Linked DNA regions of Homo sapiens: all the other regions are linked to region 3. Evidence: promoter capture Hi-C in human tissues and cell types (Jung and others, 2019). All regions are on one chromosome and are shown on one strand. Each heading gives the region's core, a stretch centred on a gene start or on the middle of the fragment in contact. The rest is flanking DNA. Distances are from core to core; before and after follow the strand shown.

Evidence for each region. The method cuts DNA at HindIII sites, captures the fragments that hold promoters and counts their contacts. A contact is called where the count stands out against the background at its distance.
Region 1: a contact is called between a fragment that was not itself captured here and the fragment with the promoter of PKDREJ in region 3, in 4 of the 25 tissues and cell types used here (IMR-90 fibroblasts, bladder, liver and 1 more).
Region 2: a fragment that was not itself captured here is called in contact with the fragment with the promoter of PKDREJ in region 3 in 1 of the 25 tissues and cell types used here (H1 embryonic stem cells).

What each region holds. Positions count from the first base shown.
Region 1 is chr22:46,226,602-46,230,857 of GRCh38, forward strand. The region is part of intron 7 of PPARA (peroxisome proliferator activated receptor alpha); the gene reads left to right. Among named protein-coding and RNA genes, the nearest start is that of CDPF1, 22 kb to the right of the region's middle. The HindIII fragment of the contact is 6,822 bases long and covers 1-4,256 here.
Region 2 is chr22:46,313,792-46,317,936 of GRCh38, forward strand. It overlaps GTSE1 (G2 and S-phase expressed 1), which reads left to right. Exons shown (of 12, transcript NM_016426.7): 6 at 99-222; 7 at 2,241-2,621. Among named protein-coding and RNA genes, the nearest start is that of GTSE1, 19 kb to the left of the region's middle. The HindIII fragment of the contact is 7,099 bases long and covers 1-4,145 here.
Region 3 is chr22:46,261,281-46,265,455 of GRCh38, forward strand. PKDREJ (polycystin family receptor for egg jelly) reads right to left here and starts at 2,063. Exons shown (of 1, transcript NM_006071.2): 1 at 1-2,063. The coding sequence starts at 2,042. The HindIII fragment of the contact is 11,288 bases long and covers 1-4,175 here.

The sequences.
Region 1 (4,256 bases), core at 4-2,503, 35 kb before region 3:
AACCATGAGTCCATTGTAGCTAGACTGGCATGCAAGTTGGGATTAAACAGAGTAAAACGTCTTGTTTAAAAAAATAAGAAAGGCCGGCTTGGGCAACATAGTGAGACCTCCTCTATGAAAAGTTAGCTGGGCATGGTGGTGTGCGCCTGTGGTTCCAGCCGCTCAGGAGGCCGAGGCAGGAGGATGGAGGTCAAGACTGCAGTGGACTGTGGTTGCGCCACTGTACTCCAGCCTGGGTGACACAGCAAGACCCCGTCTCAAAAAAAGAAAACAGAAAAAAGAAAAAAAAAGTTGAGCAAGGAGACTAATTTGTGACATGCAGCTGAACATGGTTTTTAAGACCAGTTTTGAAAGAGGAATTCCAACATTATTCTTAACATTTCAGAAGCCTGGGCATAAGGGTGACCTCCAGGGTGCCGTGTTATAACAGGACTGCTCCTTTCAACAGCTATGACCTTATACCATGTCTTGGGGTGTTGCCTGCCGTGTGACAGTCCAATATTATACCTACTACTTAAGTTTTCTTTAGATTAAAAAATGTGCTTCATATTTTATGCCATTTCTACAAATGTATAGTAAAACATAACCAAGAGAGCTTATTAAATAATTTCATCCAAAGCAGTTCTACCAGTGCTTCACATTTATTTTTTATTTATTTATTTATTTTTGAGACTGAGTCTCACTCTCTTGCCCAGGCTGGAGTGCAGTGGCGCAATCTCAGCTCACTGCAACCTCCCCCTCCTGGGTTCAAGCGATTCTCCTGCCTCAGCCTCCTAAGTAGCTGGGATTACAGGTGCCAGCCACCACACCCGACTAATTTTTGTATTTTTAGTAGACACGGGCTTTTGCCATGTTGGCCGGGCTGGTCTCGAAATCCTGACCTCAGGTCATCCACCTACCTTGGCCTCCCAAAGTGCTGGCATTGCGGGCATGAGCTACTGCGCCTGGTCCACATTTAATTTTTTGCAAAAAGATGACAGCTGCTAACAGAGATGAATTCTCATGAGTGATATCATTGAGCTTCGTAGGCCACATGAGTGTGTGCCGGGACCAGTGTGGCAGCAAGCGGGGCGTTCTGCTCTCGGCATGGAGTGATTGGGGAAAATCTAGGCAGCTTCCTGCCTCACGCTGTTTAAAACCTTTATAATGTGCTTTATTTCATTTATTTGAAATGACTGCCTGTCGTGTCAGATATATTCATAGTCAAGCTTGAGTATAAAAGGCATATTCCAAAGTTAAATATAAGCTGCTGCATAGATTTTTTTGTAAAATGATCTCACCAAGAATGTTTATCCATAAAGTTTAGCGAATTTGCAAGTGTGTTTTTCAACAGCATTTCTCTTTAGCTTTAATAAACATTGGTTTCTTCATGGTACCACTCATTTTGAATTCAGTGGTCTCCAGTTCTCCCTGCTAAATGAGGCCCACTTTCTAAAACCAAAGTGATAATTTTATAAAAATGAAATGAGATATTTGTTACCACAGAAGTCCTCATTTACGAGAGTACATCCCCATAGAACTAGTCCACGGTGAGCCTCAGGGGCATGCAAGCTGTTTAACGATGCCCCCAGCCTAGAAAGGCCCAGGCTTGGGTGTTCATGCTCCGCTGTTGCCTTCTTGAAATTCATAATCATCTTTGAACAAGGGGTCCCGCAGTGTGTGGTGGCTCACGCCTGTAATCCCAACACTCTGGGAGGCTGAAGCGGGTGGATCACCTGAGGTCGGGAGTTTGAGACCAGCCTGACCAACATGGTGAAACCCCATCTCTACTAAAAATACAGAAATTAACCAGGCGTGGTTGGTGGGTGCCTGTAATCCCAGCTACTCAGGAGGCTGAGGCAGGAGAATCACTCAAACCTGGGAGGTGGAGGTTGCAGTGAGTCGAGATCACGCCACTGCACTCCAGCCTGGGCAACAGAGCGAGACTCCGTCTCAAAAAAGAAAAACCAAGGGGTCCCACATTTGCATTTTTGCTCTGGGTCCTGTAAATTACGTAGCCAGGCCTGCATTTGTCCTGGGAGATGCTCTACCAAAAAACAATAAATAACACCAAGCATTCTGTAATCAAACACTGTAGGAACCCCTGCTTATCCTAGCCTCATTCTCATTCTGGAAGACTGCACATTTATCATGTTAAAGACTCAGCTAGGGAGGCCCAACTTCATTCAACTCAGTGTTTCTTATTTTTTTAAAACAGAACTCATTTTTTAAAAAAATTATTGGCTGGGCGTGGTGGCTCACGCCTGTAATCCCAGCACTTTGGGAGGCTGAGGTGGGCGGATCACGAGGTCAGGAGATCGAGACCATCCTGGCTAACACGGTGAAACCCCGTCTCTACTAAAAATACAAAAAAAAATGAGCTGGGCATGGTGGCGGGCGCCTGTAGTCCCAGCTACTGGGGAGGCTGAGGCAGGAGAATGGCATGAACCCGGGAGGCGGAGCTTGCTGTGAGCCAAGATCACGCCACTGCACTCCAGCCTGGGCAACAGAGCGAGACTCCATCTCAAAAAAAAAAAAAAATTATTTAACACCTTTATTTCTGCTGAATGTACTTTAGAAAGATTGAGTGATTTGAATAAAGTGACGGTGGCCTAAGAGTCTATTTTCTGGAATTGAGGGAATACTGCCATCGATCCTTGAAAAATATTTATTTAGTTCCTCCTAGAGGCCGGGCACAGTGGCTCACGCATGTAATCCTGGCCTGCACTTTGGAAGGCTGAGGTGGACAGATTGCCTGAGCTCAGGAGTTCAAGACCAGCCTGGGTAACAAGGTGAAACCCGTCTCTACTAAAATACAAAAAATTAGCTGGGCGTGGTGATGTGTGCTTGTAATCCCAGCTACTCGGGAGGCTGAGGCAGGAGAATTGCTTGAACTCAGGAGGCGGAGGCAGAGGTTGCAATGAGCTGGGATTGCACCACTGCACTCCAGCCTGGGCAACAGAGCAAGACTCTGTCTCAAAAAAAAAAAAAAATTATCTAGCCCCTCCTAGAAATGTTAATTCCTTAAATCTGAGCTTCAGCTTTCTGTGAAGCAGAATTATCTCCAAACTTTAACAAACAATGGTCAGAACTGTTTTTAAGGTCTTGGAGAGAGATCATTTTCAGTCTTTATTAATCGGACTTGAGATTATTTAGAAACTTGGCTCTGAATATTGTATTCAGAATGTTTTCACTCATTTGTGAGTAATTTTTTAAATATCCCCTTTCCTCAGATGCAGAATCAGGGCTTTTTGTCCAGCATTATGTTGCAAGTCCTGGTTCTGTTGAAACATTCCATACCATCTGTGTGATGGTTATCGGCACCTCCACCGGTGCCCTGAAGACAGTTTTGTGCTGTGAGTCCAGAAACAGGAAACACTTCAGGCTGTGTGTCAGAAGCATTGTCAGTGGTTGTGTTTTGCCCACTGGCAGGGGGCATTCTTTAAATCCTGGGATGCTTCTGCGCTTTGGGCTCCACTGTTCCAGCAGTGATTAGAAATAACGCTGTAGGCCGGGCGCGGTGGCTCACCCCTGTAATCCCAGCACTTTGGGAGGCTGAGGTGGGCAGATTACCTGAGGTCAGGAGTGCGACACCAGCCTGACCAACATGGTGTAACCCCGTCTCTACTAAAAATACAAAATTAGCTGGGCGTGGTGGCGCATGCCTGTAATCCCAGCTACTCAGAAGGCTGAGGCGGGAGAATCGCTTGAACCTGGGAGGCCGAGGTTGCAGTGAGCCGAGATTGTGCCATTGCACTCCAGCCTGGGCAACAAGAGCAAAACTCTGTCTCAAAAAAAAAAGAAATAACACCTTAGCCCACTGCATTATTGACCTGTGTCTGCATGAGCTGTGGACCACATTATAATCAGAGAGATCTCTCAGATGTTGTCACTTTCCTGCTCTACCCGCAGATGTAAATTTCAGCCAACAGCAGTGTTTGTGCTCATTTTCCCCGGCTCTCCCACACATGTAATCCCTTCTGAGCATGTTGGCTTCAAATAATATGGCCAGCCACCTCTTCCACCACGAGATCTTCAGGAAATGGCAGGCCACTGGGTTTACATGCAGATGGCATGGGAGCACACAAGGCACGGCTGTGGGGAGTTGGCACTTGCTCCAGAATATGGAGCACCGAGTGAAGGTTTCAGTTTCCTGCACTGAGAGAAACAAGGGCATTCCGAGGCTTTTCCACTTTATCCCTAAAGAGTTTCACAACGCTTGTTTGCCGATTTCTACATAGATGCCACCTTTCTGAGTTGTATGTATTTACATGCCA
Region 2 (4,145 bases), core at 613-3,112, 52 kb after region 3:
CCACCGTGCCCAGCCAAAAACCCCTTACTTTTGCAGACACAAGTAATAGGTAAATAACGAGATCTTTGCTGATTCTGTTTTTTCACATTTTGCCCCAGTTGGGGCTGAAGAAGACCCTGTTAAAAGCACCCGGCTCTACCAGCAATCTCGCAAGGAAGTCCTCCTCGGGGCCTGTTTGGAGCGGGGCATCCAGTGCGTGCACATCCCCAGCAGTGGGCAAAGGTGAGGCAGCCGGCATCATGCTTGGACCCACATCTGGCCAGGTGAGGCCTGGAGTGCTGCTCAGGCCTTGGAGACTGTTTCTGCAGAACCACTTAGGCTTGGCAGGACGTCCCGGAGGGCGTGCTGTGTGCGGTGGACCAGGCTGTGGACTGAGTTGCTGTACCTGCCCTCAGTGCCTCTGTCCCATGAGGAGGGCACACTCAGATGGGTGGCTTCAGTCTACGGGGTACACATGGCCAGAAAGCATGTATGATACCCCGTGCCTGAGAACATGGACACTGGAATCACCCTCATGTCCATGTCATGAGACACCAGTTTTAAAATAGGACTATTCCAGATAATGTAGGGCATATGGCCCCATAACTCCTGGGTGCCTGTTTAAATCCATGCTCCCACACCTGTTTGAGGTCAAGCCACATTTCAACCTTGCCAAGCCACAGCTGCCATCTAGTGGTAAGGGAAAGCCTTCGCCTTTCTGCTCTTCAGAGCGAAATCCTCTTCGAGGTGCATTGGCCATGTGGCGTCTCGGGGTCGTTCAGGGCAGCATGGTGTGGATTGTGTTCACAAAATGTAAAAAGTGGGCCGGGCGCAGGGGCTCACGCCTGTGATCCCAGCACTTTGGCAGGCCAAGATGGGTGGATCGCTTGACCCCTGGAGTTTGAGACCAGCCTGGCCAACATGGTGAAACCCTGTCTCTACTAAAAACACAAAAACTAGCCGGGCATGGTGGCGGGTGCCTGTAGTCCCAGCTACTCGGGAGACTGGGCCACGAGAATGGCTTGAACGCGGGAGGCAGAGGTTACCATGAGCCGAGATTGCATCACTGCACTCCGTCTCAAAAAAAAAAAAAAAAATGATAAGTGTGAACTCTCTAATCAGATTGATCTGATCTGGAATTCTGACTCTGCCATTCTGTGATTAAGAGAGGTTTGTGTCCTTATCTTTATAGACTGAGGTGATGACCTCCTGAGATCAAGCAATCCTCCCACCTCAGCCTCCTGAGTAGCTGGGACTACAGGCACATGCCACCACACCCGGCTAATTTTTGTGGGTTTTTTTTTTTTGAGATGGAGTCTCACTCTATTGCCAGGTTGGAGTGCAGTGGCGCAATCTTGGCTCACTACAACCTCTGCCTCCCGGGTTCGAGTGATTCTCCTGCCTCAGCCTCCCAAGTAGCTGGGACTACAGGCACCTGCCACCACGCCCGGCTAATTTTTGTATTTTTAGTAGTGACGGGGTTTCACCATGTTGGCTAGGATGGTCTCGATCTCTTGACCTCGTGATCCGCCCGCCTTGGCCTCCCAAAGTGCTAGGATTACAGGCACGAGCCACTGCGCCTGGCCCACATTTTTGTGTTTTTTGTAGAGAGGATGGTCTCACTATATTAGCCAGGCTGGTCTCGAACTCCTGGCCTTGAGTGATCTCTTGCCTTGGCCTCCCAAAGTGTTTGGATTACAGGCGTGAGCCACCACTCCTGGGCTAAAGTTTTTCTTTAAGAATCCTTTACCAGATCGTCTGCGTATATTGGTAGCTCAGTATGTATTACCCTAGTTTATCTGGTCTTCTATTTTAAATAGTGCTTATGGTTAATATGACGCAGCCTCCTTGTAATTTTAAAGGAATCAACCAGTAACAATTGCGTCTTTTTTCCTTGTTCCCTGCCCACCTCTGTGACCAGACAGGTGAGACATGTGACTAGACTATCCCCTTCCATCTGCTCAACTAATGTAGATTTCTCCTGCCAACATAATCAACGAAGATAGGAGAGCTTGAATTTATGCATGCTTATGTACATGTTAGTAATTATTTTGAGAATAAGTACCTTAGAATACACTCAGCTAAGCTAAAAGCTGCCTGAGCCATCCTGTGTTTGATGATGTTGCCTGAAGGGCTTATAGAATATTGTTAATGTGTCTTATGTTTAAGGTAGATATGCTAAAGACAGCATAACTTCTGTGTGTTTGTTAAATAGCTTCATACTTTTATAATAATGTGATTTTTGTGTGTATACCTTCTAGCTAAATCAAGTGAATTTGCAAGTATTCCTGCAAATAGCTCCCGGCCTCTGTCAAACATCAGCAAGTCAGGCAGAATGGGACCCGCCATGCTGCGGCCAGCTCTGCCTGCAGGCCCTGTGGGGGCATCCTCCTGGCAGGCCAAGCGGGTCGATGTTTCTGAGCTGGCAGCGGAGCAGCTCACGGCACCCCCCTCAGCATCCCCCACCCAACCCCAGACTCCGGAAGGTGGCGGCCAGTGGCTGAACTCCAGTTGCGCTTGGTCAGAATCTTCTCAATTGAATAAGACTAGAAGTATCAGACGGCGAGATTCCTGTCTAAATTCCAAGACAAAGGTTATGCCTACTCCTACAAATCAATTTAAAATTCCTAAGTTTTCTATTGGTGAGTAATAGATACATTTTAATGTGTCTTTAAAAAATACTGAAGAAATTGCATTTAAAGTTTTAAACAATTATTGATGGCATTGATGGTGTTTTTAGTTCTTTCCTCCAACAGTGCTTTCAGGTGTGACCCGCTGTCTTCTCGCCCACGTTGTTTTGGGGGGTCACTGGAGGCTCCCTGAATGTCTTACGTTCGTTCCTGTGTGTGTGACACCCCAATGCTCGTAGGCTGCTTGTAAGGTTTTCTCTTTAGTGTTACTGTCGGGAATTTGATTATTATGTGCTTTGAGGTGGCTTTCTTTGCCTTTATCCCGCTGAGGGTTTCTTAAGCTTCTTTGATCTGTGGGTTGGTTTTTTTCAGCAAATTTGGAAAACGTTGGCCATTATTTCTTCAGCTATCTTTTCCTCTTTCCACTTTATTTCCTAGGACTCTAATCACATCTATTTCAGGCCTCTTGACGTTGTCTCACAGGACACCGAAGCTCTGTTCTTTTTTTTATTTCAGCCTTTTTTCTTTTTCTTATCTTTTTTCTTTTCTTTCTTTCTTTTTTTTTGTTTTTTGTTTTTTGAGACGGAGTCTCGCTCTGTCACCCAGGGTGGAATGCAGTGGCGCGATCTCAGCGCACTGTAACCTCCACCTACCGAGTTCAAGCAATTCTCCTGCCTCAGCCTCCCGAGTAGCTGGGATTACAGGTGCCCACCACCACACCCGGCTAATTTTTTTTTTGTATTTTTGGTAGAGACGGGGTTTCGCCATGTTGGCCAGGCTGGTCTGGAACTCCTGACCTCAAGTGACCCACCCATCTCGGCCTCTCAAACTGCTGGGATTATAGGTGTGAGCCACCGTGCCCGGCCCAGCCTTTTTCCTTGAGCTACAGTTTGGGTAGTTTCTGTTGTCAGATATCATTTCTTCTGCAGTGCCTAACAGCTGTGAAGCCCATCCAGTTAACTTTGTTTCTAACATAATAGTTTCCCCTTATTTCTTCTCATGGTACTTGGGTTTTCTTTTACATCCTCGTGAGCAAATTGATAATGGTTTTAGGGTCTACGATTCTTCTCATACCATCTTCCCCATCATTTTGGGGTCTGTTTCGACTGACTAATTTTGTTTCCGGGTTTTGGCCTCATTTTCCTGCCTCTACATTTTTCACAAGTTTTTCTTGGTTGTTGGATATTGTCAGGTGTACACTTTTGAATGTCTGGATTTTGTTGTCTTTCTCTGAGGAGTTGGGTTGGGCTTGGCAGGCAGTTAAGGTGCAGATCATCCTTCCGAGGCTTTTTATGCTTTGAAGTGGTGGGTCTAGCATAGCCTTTCCGCCTCCCGCCACCGGCGTCCTTCCCAAGGCCTCTGCTGCACACCCGTGTGTCCCGCAAGGCCCGCGAGACCCCTGCACTCCTGCTGCTGCAAGATGACACCTTCTCGGCCCTGTGAGCTCCGCTCGTTGCTCCCTGGTAAGACGGCGGTTTCTCGGCCCTGTGAGCTCCGCTCGTTGCTCCCTGGTAGTTGCTCTTCTCTTGACCTTGA
Region 3 (4,175 bases), core at 813-3,312:
TTCAACACTGTCTTTGATGAATTTTTGTCAGTGGGAGCCTGTGCGGTGGCATGCAAAGTCACCTGAGAAAAAGCTCCTAGAGAATCATAGACCTGGGCATATATCTTCAAGCCATATTGACTAGCCAACATACCAACAGGGAGAAAGGAAGGGGGTACTGTGGACTGAGGCCCCAAGTACAGGATGGTCCCCAGGGTGTTCTCTTTTACTGAACTGATTTCACCAACACTGTGCAAATCAGAAACAATTATTTTATATGTAAGAGGGACGTGCTTATCCCTAAAATTACTACACTGGACAACAAATTTAGTAATAAGTGCAATTCCTTTAGCTGGATTAATTTTGCATTCTCCGATCTGAGGGCCATGGTTAATAATAAAAGAATGCCTGAAGACCGAGGTCACTCCACTCCAACATGCTAGATACAGAGAAATCGAAAACTCAGCTTCCAAAAAATGCCGAAAAGCAAAAGCTTTTATAGACAGATAAGCACCATTCCTTCCTGTTACAGTTTCCCCCATCCAATCAAATAGCATCTCACCACCTGAAGAAGACAAAATTGACCATTTATAGAAATCACGGCTTGCACAATTTGTGCAATTTAGGAACAAAGAAAATCTATCAGAGACAATGAAGTTTCTCTCACAATTTTCGATACATGTGATGTGTGCTATGGCTTTTGGTCCTTGGAGCACGTGGACCCTCTTATCAGAAAACGCTGTCCTAGAGTCCTTCCGAATCACCATTCTGAAGAAATACACGTGGTCGCCTTTAAGTGTTTCTGGCAAAAGTGTCAGTACAGGGCCCGAGGCCCAGGGCCATTTCAGATTGGCCTGCTCGGGGTGACAGACTTCCTTGCTCCCCAGGATTATTCGATCCCCACCGTAGTTTCTGGGATCTGTGGTACAGTACCAAAAGAACTGGAGTCCCTGTAACGGGCTGTCCGCATCTGGGTCCGAGGACGTGGACCCGTCCAGAATCAGCTGCTCTGTGAAATTAGCTGTTATGTTGGCATCGCCAAGCATCACCGCCTGCAGGGAACTCCTGACGATCCAGACATAGACGGCGTCCGAGTCTTTCACCTCGGGCATCTTGGGGTTCCCTGTGGTGATGGACACCGTGAAATTAAACACATACACTCCCCACTGTAACGAATTATTGGGGATGTGAATGAACAAGGGGCTGTTCCTGATCTCGAGCTGGGGCAGATCCAAGGGCTGCGTCCAGTCGGGCGCCTGACCCACGGCGGGCACGGAGAACACCTGCCAGTACTGGGCGATGGCGCGCGCGGCCGGGCAGTCCAGCTGCACCGAGGCGTTGATGGTGGCCTCCGCCTGCATGCTCAGGCGCACGGGGGCGCCCTTCTGGTCCGTGTTGATCCTCACGCGCTGGATGACGCAGGCGTTTATCTGACAGGACACGGACGACTCGACGGCTCTGTGGCTGGACGAGTTGACGGCCTGCAACATCACGCGCGCGGGGCCGTCTGTGGGGCACTCGGTGCGGGCCACGAAGCCCTGCTGGGGCCGCGGGCCTGGCGCGGCGGAGCGCGGGGAGACGCGGGCCGCGGGGGAGGCCGGGCGGGCGGCGCCGGGTCCGAGCAGCCGCAGGCGGAAGGCCCAGGCCAGGCGCCCGGGCGAGCGCGGCAGCCGCACGGACCACGTCAGGGAGAGGCGGCCGCCGCGCGCGGAGAGCTGCAGGTCGACGAGCGCGAGCGCGGGCGCGGCCGGCCAGGGCAGGCGTTGGGCGCTGAGCAGGACGCGCAAGTCGAGGCAGTACCAGCGCCGCCCGGTCCCGCCATGGGGGAAGCAGAGGCTGCCGCGGCCGCTCAGGACAGCGCCGCCCGCCCGCACCGCGCTGGGCCGCAGACTGAGGAGGGCGCGGCCGCCGCGCACCCCGAGGCCCGGGGCGCCCCTGAGGAGGCCACCGGGCGCCCCGGAGACGGCGGCTTGTGCCCCGCGAGGAACCGGCGGCAGCGGGAGGCGGCCGACGCTCAGGCTCAGGCCCACGCCCAGAAGGAGGAGAGCGGGCCCAGGCCTCATGGCGCCGGCCCAGGAGAAGCTGGGAGAGGCCGCGAGGCGCGCCCAACCGCCACCGGGGTCGCGGGGATAGTGAGGGTCTTGGGGACAGTGGGGGTCTCGGGCGTCGAAGGGCGCTGGCAGAGGGGTCCCAGGGACAGAGTCCCAGAGAGCAGCTGGGACCTCGGAGCTTGGGGTCAGTCGGCACTGGGGACTTCTTGGGTACCTCTTCCCTCTCCGTCCCCAAGTGTGTGCAGGCCCAGGGTCAGGATGGCTCAGGAGGGCAGTTCAGCCCCGTGCAGACCACAGAGCTGACCACGGAGAAGGGGCTTCAGCAGGAACCCTTGGGAAAGCCAGTCACAAAATGGGAGATCAGGAGGGAACCGTGAGATCCCTGGGCGCCCAGGAAGGTCTGACTCTCGGTTTCTTACTTTGGGGTCGCTTTGCTCTTTTCTTTCTAGTTGGTTTGGGGGTTTTGTTTTTTGTTTGTTTGTTTGTTTGTTTGTTTTTTGAGACGGAGTCTCTGTCACCCAGGCTGGAGTGCAATGGCTTGACCTCAAGTGATCCACCCACCTCGGCCTCCCAAAGTGCTGGGATTACAGGCATGAGCCACTGTGCCTGGCCTCATTCTTTAACTCTGTCCATTTTTGCTGTATATTTTGGGACTTGATTGATGGATTGAATGATTTTAGAGACAGGGTCTTGCTCTGTTGCCCAGGCTGGAGTGCAATGGTGCAATCATAGCTGACTGTAACCTTGAACTCCTGGGCTCAAGGAATCCTCCTGCCTCAGCCTCCCATACTACAGGTCTACACCACTACACCTGACTGATTTATTTTTTATTTTTGTAGAGATGGTGTCTTGCTGTGTTTCACAGGCTGGTCTCAAACTCGTGGTCTTAATTGGCCCTCCCCTGTATTAGTCCGTTTTCATGCTGCTGATAAAGACATAACCAAGACTGGGAAGAAAAAGAGGTTTAATTGGACTTACAGTTCCATATGGCTGGGGAGGCCTCAGAATCATGGCAGGAGGCAAAAAGCACTTCTTGCATGGCAGTGGCAAGAGAAAATGAGGAAGACGCAAAAGCGGAAACCCCTGATAAAAGCATCAGATCTCCTGAGACTTATTCACTACCACAGAACAATATGGGGGAAACTGCCCCTGTGATTCAGTTATCTCCCACCCGGTCCCTCCCACAACATGTGGGAATTATGGGACTATAAGATGAGATTTGGGTGGGGACACAGAGCCAAACTATATCATTCCACCCCTGCCAAATCTCATCTCCTCACATTTCAAAACCAATCATGCCTTCCCAACAGTCCTCCAAAGTCTTAACTCATTTCACATTAACTCAAAAGTCCACAGTCCAAAGTCCTGTCTGAGACAAAGGAAGTCGCTTATGCTTATGAGCCTGTAAAATCAAAAGCAACTGGCTGGGCGCAGTGGCTCACCCTGTAATCCCAGCACTTCGGGAGGCTGAAGCGGGCAGATCACCTGAGCTTGGGAGTTTGAGACCAGCCTGACCAACATGGAGAAACCCCATCTCTACTAAAAATACAAAATTAGCCGGGTGTGGTGGTGCATGCCTGTAATCCCAGCTACTCGGGAGGCTGAGGCAGGAGAATCGCTTGAACCCGGGAAGCAGAGGTTGCGGTGAGCCAAGATCGTGTCATTGCACTCCAGCCTGGGCAACAGGAACGAAACTCTGTCTCAAAAAACAGAAAAAAAATCAAAAGCAAGTTAGTTATTTCCTAGATACAGTGGGGTACAGACATTGGGTAAAGACAACCATTCCAAATGGGAGAAATTGGCCAAACAAAGGAGTTATAGGGCCCATGCAAGTCTGAAATCCAGTGGGGCAGTCAAATCCTAAAGCTCCAAAATTATCTCCTTTGACTTCATGTCTCAAATCCAGCTCATGCTGATGCAAGAGGTGGGTTCCTATGGTCTTGGGCAGCTCCGCCCCTGTGGCTTTGCAGGGTACAGCCTCCCTCCTGGTTGCCTTCGTGGGCTGGTGTTGAGTGTCTGCAGCTTTTCTAGACTCATGGTGCAAGCTGTTGGTGAATCTACCATTCTAGGGTCTGGAGGATGGTGGCCCTCTTCTCACAGCTCCACTAGGCGGTGCCCCAGTAGGGACTCTGTGTGGGGGCTCTA